Linked DNA regions of Homo sapiens: region 1 is linked to region 2. Evidence: promoter capture Hi-C in 16 types of primary human blood cells and fetal thymus (Javierre and others, 2016). All regions are on one chromosome and are shown on one strand. Each heading gives the region's core, a stretch centred on a gene start or on the middle of the fragment in contact. The rest is flanking DNA. Distances are from core to core; before and after follow the strand shown. Region 1 overlaps HSF5 (heat shock transcription factor 5). Region 2 holds the start of EPX (eosinophil peroxidase).

What was found. The method cuts DNA at HindIII sites, captures the fragments that hold promoters and counts their contacts. A CHiCAGO score of 5 or more calls a contact.
Region 1: a contact is called between a fragment that was not itself captured here and the fragment with the promoter of EPX in region 2, in 4 of 17 cell types (M2 macrophages, M0 macrophages, monocytes and 1 more). The highest score is 12.5, in M2 macrophages.

The regions. Positions count from the first base shown.
Region 1 is chr17:58,434,956-58,439,936 of GRCh38, reverse strand. The region is part of intron 5 of HSF5 (heat shock transcription factor 5); the gene reads left to right. Among named protein-coding and RNA genes, the nearest start is that of RNF43, 20 kb to the right of the region's middle. The HindIII fragment of the contact is 3,086 bases long and covers 711-3,796 here.
Region 2 is chr17:58,190,636-58,195,838 of GRCh38, reverse strand. It overlaps EPX (eosinophil peroxidase), which reads right to left and starts at 3,113. Exons shown (of 13, transcript NM_000502.6): 1 at 2,917-3,113; 2 at 2,708-2,801; 3 at 2,293-2,468; 4 at 2,008-2,125; 5 at 1,747-1,876; 6 at 669-875. The coding sequence starts at 2,992. The HindIII fragment of the contact is 9,173 bases long and covers 1-5,203 here.

The DNA of each region.
Region 1 (4,981 bases), core at 1,004-3,503, 240 kb before region 2:
CCAGTATTGGATATGCTGAGATGAACTTCTCTCTCTGTTTTTTTCTTTCAATTTTGTTATACTTTTATCTTTTTTCTATTTTGTGGAATGTTCCTCAGATGAAACTTTCAAATGTTTAATTTTAAAAATTTGGCTACTAAATTTATAATTTCCAGTTGGGCATGGTGGCTCATGCCTGTAATCCCAGCACTTTGGGAGGCCAAGGCGGGCGGATCACCTGAGGTTGGGAGTTCCAGACCAGCCTGACCAACATGGTGAAACCCCGTCTCTACTGAAAATACAGAATTAGCTGGGCATGGTGGCGCATGCTTGTAATGCCAGCTACTCAGGAGGCTAAGGCAGGAGAATTGCTTGAACCCGGGAGGTGGAGGTTGCAGTGAGCCGAGATCGCGCTATTGCACTTTAGCCTGGGCAACAAGAGCAAAACTCCGTCTCAAAAAAAAAAAAATTATAACTTCTAACAGCTCTTTTTTATTCTATTCTATAATTGTTCCTTTTTGGGGGAACTTGCTGTTCTTTTATATGGATATAATATCTTCTTATAGCTCTCTGAGGATACTAAATGGAAGGGCTGGTTTTGAAGTTGTTTCCCCACAACATATGTCAGTTTCCTCTACGTTCTTTCTGGTTTTTTTTTTTGGTTGTTGTTGTTTTTGTTTTTTTTTTCCATTGGCTTTCTTCCCTATTCAAGAATGGAGCATTAAAAAGCTTACAGAAGCTCTGTTGACAAGATTTGTCAACTGTTGGGCTTAGCTTAATGTTAATCAGCATGTACCACCAATTTTTTTTATTTATTATTATTTTTTTTTTGAGGCAGGGTCTCACTCTGTTGCCTAGTCTGGCACGATCATAGCTCACTGCAGCCTTGATCTCTGGGCTAAAGTGATCCTCCCACCTCAACCAACCTACCCCCAACCCCCCAAAGAAGTAGCTGGGACTACAGGCACATGCCACCACACCTAGCTGATTTTTTTTTACTTTTCAAAGAGATGGAGTCTCACTGTGTTGCCCAGGCTGATCTCCAACTCCTGGTCTCAAGCAATCCTCCCAACTTAGCCTCCCAAAGTGCTGGGATTACAGGTGTCAGCCACCATGCCTGGCCTTAAGGCACTTCTTAGTGCAACTTCAGGTTGGGGTATTGAAGCAGTTGGATTCATGACCCAGTTACTGAACTCTAGTCAATAAGTTGTCAACCACAGGCAGTCAAATATTCCCTTCCATCTCTGCTTGCACACTAGGTACCTCTAGCCTGAGTTTATCTCTTCTTTTAGGGCTTTGCTGAATGTGTCAAGAAATAGTCAACACCTTGTGATTTTTGTCAATCTTTTCCCCCATGGTTGTATGTTCACTTGGCATGTGTGGTCTGACTTCCATGGTGTCACAGGTAATGATTTTACCAAATATGTTGGCATGGATAACAAAGATCACCAACATTCTAGCTTGCTGTGTCCTAACCATGTGCTGCCTGACTGCAAAGCCAGTAGCACATATAATCATGTATCCCTTAATGACAGGAATGTATTCTGAGAACTATGTCATTAGTTAATGTTATTGTTTTATAAACATTGTGAATTGTACTTACACAAACCTAGATGATGTTGCCTACTACATACCTAGGCTGTATAGTATAGCCTATTGCTTCTAGGCTACAAACCCTTACAGCATGTTACTGTATTGAATATTGTAAGCAATTGTAATACAGTGGTATTTGTGTATCTAAACATAGCTAAGCATAGAAATGGTACAGTAAAAATAGAGTACAATCTTACAGAATCATCATCATCTATATGGTCTGTCACTGACCAAAATCAACCAATTATTTTTTTTTTTGGCAATTTGATTGGCAAAACTTTAACTGTTGATAATATCCAGCTTTGATAAAGGTATAGAGAAAAGGAACCTTCTCTATGCTGTAATTGGAATGTAAATTCGTATAGCCCTATAAAGGACAATTGGCATTATTTATAGATAACTAAAATGCTTATGAGTTTTGACTCAGGAACTCTACTCCTGGGAATCTCTCCTGTAGAAATGTGTATATTCCCAAAGGTACTCAAAATAAGTTTGCTATAGTGTTATTTATAATAGCAAAAATTTGAGAAAAGCATAAATGCCTGACAGTGGGGAACCAGATACATTATGACATCTACATAATAAAATACTGTGCAACCATTTAAGAAACTGAAGTAGCTTGATGTGTTGTGACCTGGAAAGACAGTAAGTGTTCATAATGTGTTCAGCAAATGGGTAAGTTGCAACACAATATGTCTAGCACAACCCCCTTTCTAGAAAGAAAGAAAAGAAAGTATATGCTGTAAAATTATAGAAAAAAGTCTGGAGATATACGATATAGCTGATAAATATAACACTAGTTATCTCTCAGAAGATAGAATGTATGGGTGCAGGGGTATGCTTAACTTCTCAATTTGTATATGTATATATAATAGGATTACGGGAAATTTTCACCATCTGTATTCTTCTATGTTTTTCAAATTTTAAAAAATCTAAAAATACTAAAAGTAGTTTAAATACTTGAAGTGTTCCTATAGCAGGAATATAAAAGCCTTAAAGTAATAGAAATGAACAATTTCAGAGTGTTTTTAAAAAATATTTATATCCCAGATAGTAAACTGACTTTTGAGGTTTAGATATGATTGACTCAAGATAAACTTACCCTATACCAAGAATGCCTTTCTAAGATTTCTGAGACTTTCTAGGGTTCACAGTAGCTTTTATTTTTGAGTTTCTGCTTAAATGTAATTCCAGACTTGTCCATATCTGACCTCCCAGGGCTGTTCTTATCTGTCTGTTCCATGCTATACCAGATGCAGAACTTGGCCCACTTTCTTTGACCTCTTCCTCCCTTTAAGCATTATGCTAGGCATGTGTATGTGTAGCACACTTTTATGAAGATGTCGGGAGGCAGAAATACCGACAGAAATATTTAGAATACCGCAAAAATGGAATTAAAAGGCCCCCAGTCACTTTACGGCATCTTTCCTTGTCACTAGTCAATATGGTCCTCTGCCATGTTGCTTTCTTTCCTTGTACTAGCACCAGACCTTCGTTTCTCTGCTTTCTGTTGTTGTTGTTGTTATGGTTGGTTTTTTTTTTCTGCTCTTTCCCCAGGTGCTGAATTCCTGTGTTTTACTTAGGCAAAGAAGGTTAGGTATCTCTTCTATTTTTTGATGTTTTTAAGGCGTCATTTTTCCCAACCAGAACAATCTATCGAGACATATTCCTCAACAAAGACAATTACCTCCCTGAGAGGAACTCTGGTGCCTGCTGTTAAAAAAATAATTTCCTCTCTTTCACTACATGTTATGGTTATAAGTGTAACTGATAAAATAATTAGCACAGTAATTATCTTTATTAACTCTTCCTGTTGTTTTTTTTTTCTAAGTAAAGCCTTATCCTTTGGTCAGTGCAGTTAATAGATGAGTCTTAATTGATGTTGGCTTCCTGCTGTGAAACATAAGAGTTGTGAAATCTTGGCATCATTATGACACCTAATCACATTTTCATTTTATTATGGACAAGAGGAAAATGAGTTATGATTAAGCTAGAACCTCTCTGCTAAAAAAAAAAAAAGTTTTTTAATTAAAGTGTAGGCAGAAATACAATTCATGAAGTTGCAAATGATTCTGCTCTGATAGACCTTGGCCTAGCAGTTGGTCTATGAAAACATGGCTATATGTAAGGTCCCATGGCATTAAGAGACCTTAACCAAAGTCAATGTGTGAGATTAATATACTGCTCATTAAAAACAGTACAGCATATGGTTAGAAAGAAAGCTTTTGGTGTTAGAAAAACCTGCATTAAAACCTGGATTCTGCTCTTTACTGTGTGACCTTGGACGTGTTTACCTAACTGAGCTTTGGTGTCCTCATCTGCAAAATGAGGAATATGGATTATAATGATATAAATCATAGAACTGGCTTAGTATTATGCTGGGTTACATAGTAAGTAGTCCATACATAGTAGCAATAGAATTTTAGCTATTTTTATAACATTTACTTTTTTTTTTTTTTTTTTTTTGAGATGGAGTCTCGCTCTGTCGCCCAGGCTGCGGTGCAGTGGCGTGATCTTGGCTCACTACAAGCTCCACCTCCCAGGTTCACACCATTCTCCTGCCTCAGCCTCCCGAGTAGCTGGGACTACAGGCGCCCGCCACCATGCCCGGCTAATTTTTTGTATATTTAGTAGAGATGGGGTTTCACCATGTTAGCCAGGATGGTCTCGATCTCCTGCTCGCCTCAGCCTCCCAAAGTGCTGGGATTACAGGCATGAGCCACAGCGCCCAGCCAATATTTACTGTTCTTATGTTTATTACCACTGGTTACTTTTCAGATGGCTAGTCTCTATTTATTTATTTATTTGTTTATTTATTGAGCTGGAATCTCACTCTGTTGCCTAGGCTGGAGTGCAGTGGCGTGATCTCGACTCACTGCAACCTCCGCCTCCTGGGTTCAAGCGATTCTCGTGCTTCAGCCTCCCAAATAGCTGAGACTACAGGCATGAGCCACCACACAACTGATTTTTGTATTTTTAGTAGAGATGGGGTCTTGCCATGTTGGCCAGGTTGGTCTTGAACTCCTGACCTCAGGTGATCTACCCACCTTGGCCTCCCAAAGTGCTGGGATTACAGGCATGAGCTACTGCACCCCGCCTTAGTCTCACTTTAAATTCACGTAGGCTGTCAGTGTTGCAGCAGTCCTATAATATTTTCTAGTCAATATATTCCCCATTCTCCAAAGCCACTCTATTATATCCTGTCCTCTCTGCTCCGTTTCCAACACTCCTCCTCTCTCTTCATTCGTGGCTGTGACCCTGTTTTATATCTTACTGAGAAAATAGAAGCAGCTAGAATGAAGCTTTCATATCTTCCCACCAACATATTTATCAGTCTACTTCCAATTGTAACCCTACACGCTGCCTTTCCTTCTGTTATAATGGAAAAGGGCCAGTCCTTTCATTTGTA
Region 2 (5,203 bases), core at 1,864-4,363:
AGATAAGGTTGCAACAGGGAGAGGCCATCCAGAGGCCCTCACATGTCATCCCTCATGAATGTGGCCCCACCTATTAAGGGTGACTGTGTGTGTACATGTGTGTGTGAGAGGGAGCGTGTGTGTGCACGTGTGTGTGTGTGAGAGAGTGTGTGTGTGCACGTGTGTCAACCCTATGTTCCTAGCAGAGACTCTGCTCCCTGGATTCTATCTTTCCTCCCCTAGTGCCCCACACTGTCCTTGGCTTCTAGCCTGAAGGTTAGGACCCTACTTACAGCCCAAGCCCAAGAAGCTGGCAAGAGCCGCAGGACCCTTGGACTACTCTGGGAAGGAGAGAAGGGCAAGAGCTAAGAGGCCCTTAGGTTGCCAAAAGCAGGGGCCCAGAGGCTTCCCCTGTTGGATTCAGACCCATGGGTCAAGGCATGTGTCAAGGGCTTCCCACTCCATGAAGCCTGACCTGAGCCTCCTGGCAGATTGCCCTACCCCCACCTCTCAAACACACACGGCGCGGGGTCTCTGCTCAGCTGTGTTTCTTGTGTCTCTGTCTCATACCCTAGCTCCACAGGCAGCTCCTTAAGGATGGTGCTCCAGTCTTCCAGATCCCCACCCCCAGCACCTTGCCTTTGGGGGAGGCCACACAAGGGCATGGGAGATTGGCTGAGGGTAGGTACCTTGATGGGAAAGCAGGGGGGCAGCTGGGCGCAGGTCCTCTCACAGTCAACGCCTGCAGTGAAGGCCACTCTGGCCGGGGACTCCGGGGAGAAGTCCAGGTCATGGTCAATGAACTGGCCCCACTGCATGAACATGAGGGCTCGGCCACGGTCGGAGGTCAGTCTCTCATTGGGGAAGCGCACAATCTGGTTGGAGACAGCCCGGACCTGGTGGGGAAATAACATCAGCACGGGACATGGGCTCCCTGACCCCACAAGGTATTAGAGCCAACCCAGGACTCAGGGAGCAGCAGCTCCCCTGCTGGAATTGACAGCCTCTCCTCTTCTGCCCTCCATGCCCCTTTTGTCCCTGGAGGCGTAGCCACCTCCTGCTCTCATTCCTAGAAGGATGGTTTCTGGCTGGGCTCCTGAGGATTCCGGTGGTAAAGAGAAGGAGAGGGGCTAGGTTGACTGGCTCAGACCTCACCAGCTCTCCCAGAGGGGAAGGGAGATCAAATAGATAGATCAATTTGTACACTGATAGCTAACCAGATGATAGCACGGATTCACAGGTGCATGGGCTGGTTGCCAGGTGATGGATAATACACGTAGGGAGTACGGGGTCAGCAGATGGAAGGGTGGATAGAAGAAAATTAATTAATAGATGTTGATAGATGGGTAGATGATAGACTGCTCTATCGATATATCAATAGAAAACTGATGAGTTGATAAATGTGAAATAGATCAATAGATAAAGCCAGATTAAGGTATAGAGCTGTTTATATTTAGCAAGACTTTGACACTAATTTTCTCAGAAAAAACCGTACAACACCGTAATGGTTAGCATGAATAGATCATGTCCTCTATAGCTATTTATACCAAGGACTTCAATATCCACACAGGCTCTACGAGGTAGGTTTTAGGGCCATTTTACAGATGAGGAAACTAAGCCTCAGAAAGCTGTGTTATTTGCCTCAAGTCACTGCACTGGTCAGTGGAAGGGCCTGGGTTCAAGCCCTGCCTGCGTGACTCTGGGCTGTGTTTTACTCCCCGCATTTAAGAGATCAAGCAACCTCCCAAACCCTCAGCCCCAACTCACAAGAGGGAGAAGGAAGCCATTGCGCCTCCTGCTGGGGGTCCAGCCGAAGGGGAGCGACAGCCCATCCTCATACTCGGCGGGCAGCCAGCGAGCCAGAGCCTGGTTGGAGGCCCCTAGCAAGGGTCTCCTCCTGCAGCCATGGGTGGGATAGGTTAGCAGGGGGCAGGGCCTGGAGATGGCTCAGCATGGAGGGAGAGGGTGGGTGCAGGAAGGGAGAGGTCCCCCAGGCAGGGGCAGCCCCTCCTGCCGCCCCGCACGCACTTGTTGTTGCACCGTCCAGTGATGGTGCGGTACTTGTCGCTGCAGCGCTCGGCCTGGTCCCGGAGAGCACAGCCACTGGCCTGGGACAGCAGCCGCAGCTGTGGTTCTGTTAGCACATCTGTGGGAAGGCAAATGGGCAGACCTGAGCTGGCCTGCTCTGTACCTCCCATCCCTTTACCCTCTCTCCTCCCAGCACCCCAAACCTGTGCACCCTGCCTCCCTCTCCTGGATTCCTTCTACTCCAGGCCAGGGTAGGCCCAGCGGGCTCAGTGGGGATCAGAGTACCAGTGACATTGAAGGGTCCGGACCGCTGGGGTTGTAACTTCTCTTCAAGCAGCCCCAAAGCCACATGCATATAATCTGCGGCCCGAACAACTGTCCTGGTGGCTGCTACCGGTTGTTTGAAGTAGGACAGGAGGTCCATGGGGCTGGCTGAACCGCTGCGAAGCCGCTGCTTGATGCTGCCCAGGAGAGGAGGAGTGAGGGCTGGAGAGAGGGTGCAGACCCACCCAGCAGAGACCCAGTCCTGGGGCACAGTCAGGACAGGGCAAGCGGACAGAAGGATGGATGGAAGGGAGGCTCTACCAACAGGAAATGTTCATGGGGTCCAGAGGTGGCTGATGAGTGAGATGAACTTGGCTGGGGCCCATGCCCCTCACTGATCCTCCCAGGCCCATGCAGCCCCCAGACCCAAGTCCACCTCTTCTGGGTCCAATTGTAGGCAGCATCCACCAGCAACTTGGCCTCTGCTATGCAGTCTCGCAGGACCGAGGTCTCCACTGCCCCAGGGGAGGCTGTTCAAAGAGATGGGGACTCAGGGTTCAGCAAGCCACAAGACCCCCTCCAAGACCCAAGTGCTTCCCCTTCCATTTCCCCTCCCTCCTCCTTGCCTGTCTAGGGGACTATTACCTGGGTCAGTGCCCTCACAGGGCTGGGCGAGGACGAGTGTGGCCAGGACCCCTGCCAGGGCTGGGAGCAGATGCATCTCTGCAGCGAGGCTTCACCAGCTGGGAAGTGAGTGACATCCACAGCCTGCACGGGAGGATCCTCTGCTCCCCTCTCACTTTGAGGACCCCCAGCCGACCTCTCACTTCCTCCAGCTCTTCTCTGGACGTAGCTGGGAAGGGACTTTTATAGCCCATTCTAGGGTGGGGGAGGGCAGCTCTGGGCCCTAGAAACCCAGCCTCTTGGGTGGAGTTCTGAAACTTCTCTCTGGTTTTCATGGGAGTTTTGAGACTGAAACCCCCCACCCCACCTCCTACCAGCCTGGGGACATTCTTCCTGCCTACCCTTCACTCCATCCCTACCCTCTACTACCAAGCCCACTGATGCACTTCTCCCAGGGCCCAGAGCAGCACCTGGGACACAGGTGTCGCTCAATGGATATTTGTTGGCTGACAGGAGCGGTGCACCTCAGTCGCCACCGCCTGGCTGCATGGCCTTGGGCAAGCCACTTTCCCTCTCCAGGCCTCAGTTTTCACATCCCTAGAATGAGAGTTGGGCCAGATGATTGGAAGGGTGCCTCTCCTCCTGCAACAGGGCAGAAACTGAATCTGCCTTACTGTTATACACACCCCCCATACCCAGCTCAAAGCCCAGCATTTAGTATGTGCTTAGCAGGTGTTTGTTGAGTGAATGAATGATCTGTGATGAATGATTTGGCCCCTCTCCTTATCCCCTAGCCCTACTCACTCCCTCCAAGGTGCCAGGGAGAGTGTGAGGCTGTGACTGAGGCAGGGCCTGGCAGTGAAATCCCTCATGGGGCCATTTTGGGGACATGGCGAGATGTCACAGGTAAAACACCCAGCCCAGTGAGCTGCTGCAGAGCCTAAAAGTAAGCGCCCGCCATGGGCTTTATTCTCTTGGAGTTTCTTAGGTGCCAATCAGTAGTAGGTTTACTCTGAGAAGTAGATTTCAATTATGAGTTCCTATTGGGCTTGGTGAGAAGTAGCTTCTTTAGAGGCAGTGTGCTGCACCAGGGTCTGATTGGCCTGGATTGAATCCAGCCCTGTCACTAGCTTCGTGACCTTGGGTGAGCCTCCATTTCCACCTTAAGTGCGCCTCCATTTCCACCTTAAGTGCAGAGTGCATCCCAGTCGGCCTTCTGCCAGGGCCCACCCTCTCTGCACCTAAGCCTTCCTCCTGTAGTTCCCTGCCCTGGATGAGCCAGGTTCATCCTTTGCCTCTGACCTCATCCCGGCTGCCTGGAGAGCACATGCTCATCCCTGAGACAGTTCCAGAGTCACCACCACTGTGGCCAGCAGCCTGCGTGTCCTCGCCCCTTCTTCAGGAGGACACGTCCATTCCTTCTTCAGTGTGGACCCCGTGCCTGCTCCAGACTCCCAGGGAGGCTGTTCCAAGTGTCCTTTCTCCTCCCCCACCCCCACACCCTACCGAAACCCTGCCCGGTGCCTTCCACAGCCTCCTCCTCCCACAGCAATGTTACCAGCCCAACCGTTGCTCTTGAAACAACCACCTCTCTTCGGCAACCCCTTTCACAAGCTCCAGTTGATGGCCTGAGCCCTCCTAATCTTATCTCCTTATCTTTAGCGGAGGCCCCTCTCCTGTGACGGGGGGCCTGGGTAGAAGTCACTGTGTAGGAGCTGAAAGCACACTGGGTTCCTTGATGCTGACCCACTGAGTGACTGGGTAAATCACACCCCTCCATGGACCTGTTTCCAAACCTGTGAGATGGGGACAGGGAGCCTCATGGAGGAGAGAGATTATATAAATCACACAGCACTCCTCAGCTGTGTGTCACCTCCCGGCCCTCAGGGAGCCAGGTGCTCCCCGGGTGGAGCCAGGTGGAATGCATGTACCCCAGGTTGGAGCTGGATGGGGTGTATGTACCACAGCTTGGAGCCAGGGTGGGGTGTATATAACCCAGGTTGGAGTTGGAGTAGGGTGTATGTACCCTAGGTTGGAGCCAGGGTGGGGTGTATGTACCATAGCTTGGAGCCAGAGTAGGGTGTATGTAACCCAGGTTGGAGTTGGGGTGGGCTGTATGTACCCTAGGTTGGAGGCAGGGTGGGGTGCATGTACCCCAGGTTGGAGTTGGGGTGGGGTGTATGTAACCCAGGATAGAATTGGGGTGGGATGTATGTACCCCAGGTTGGAGTTGGAGTGGGGTGTATATACCCCAGGTAGGAGTCGGGGTGGGGCGTATGTACCCCTGGTTGGAGTTGGGGTGGGATGT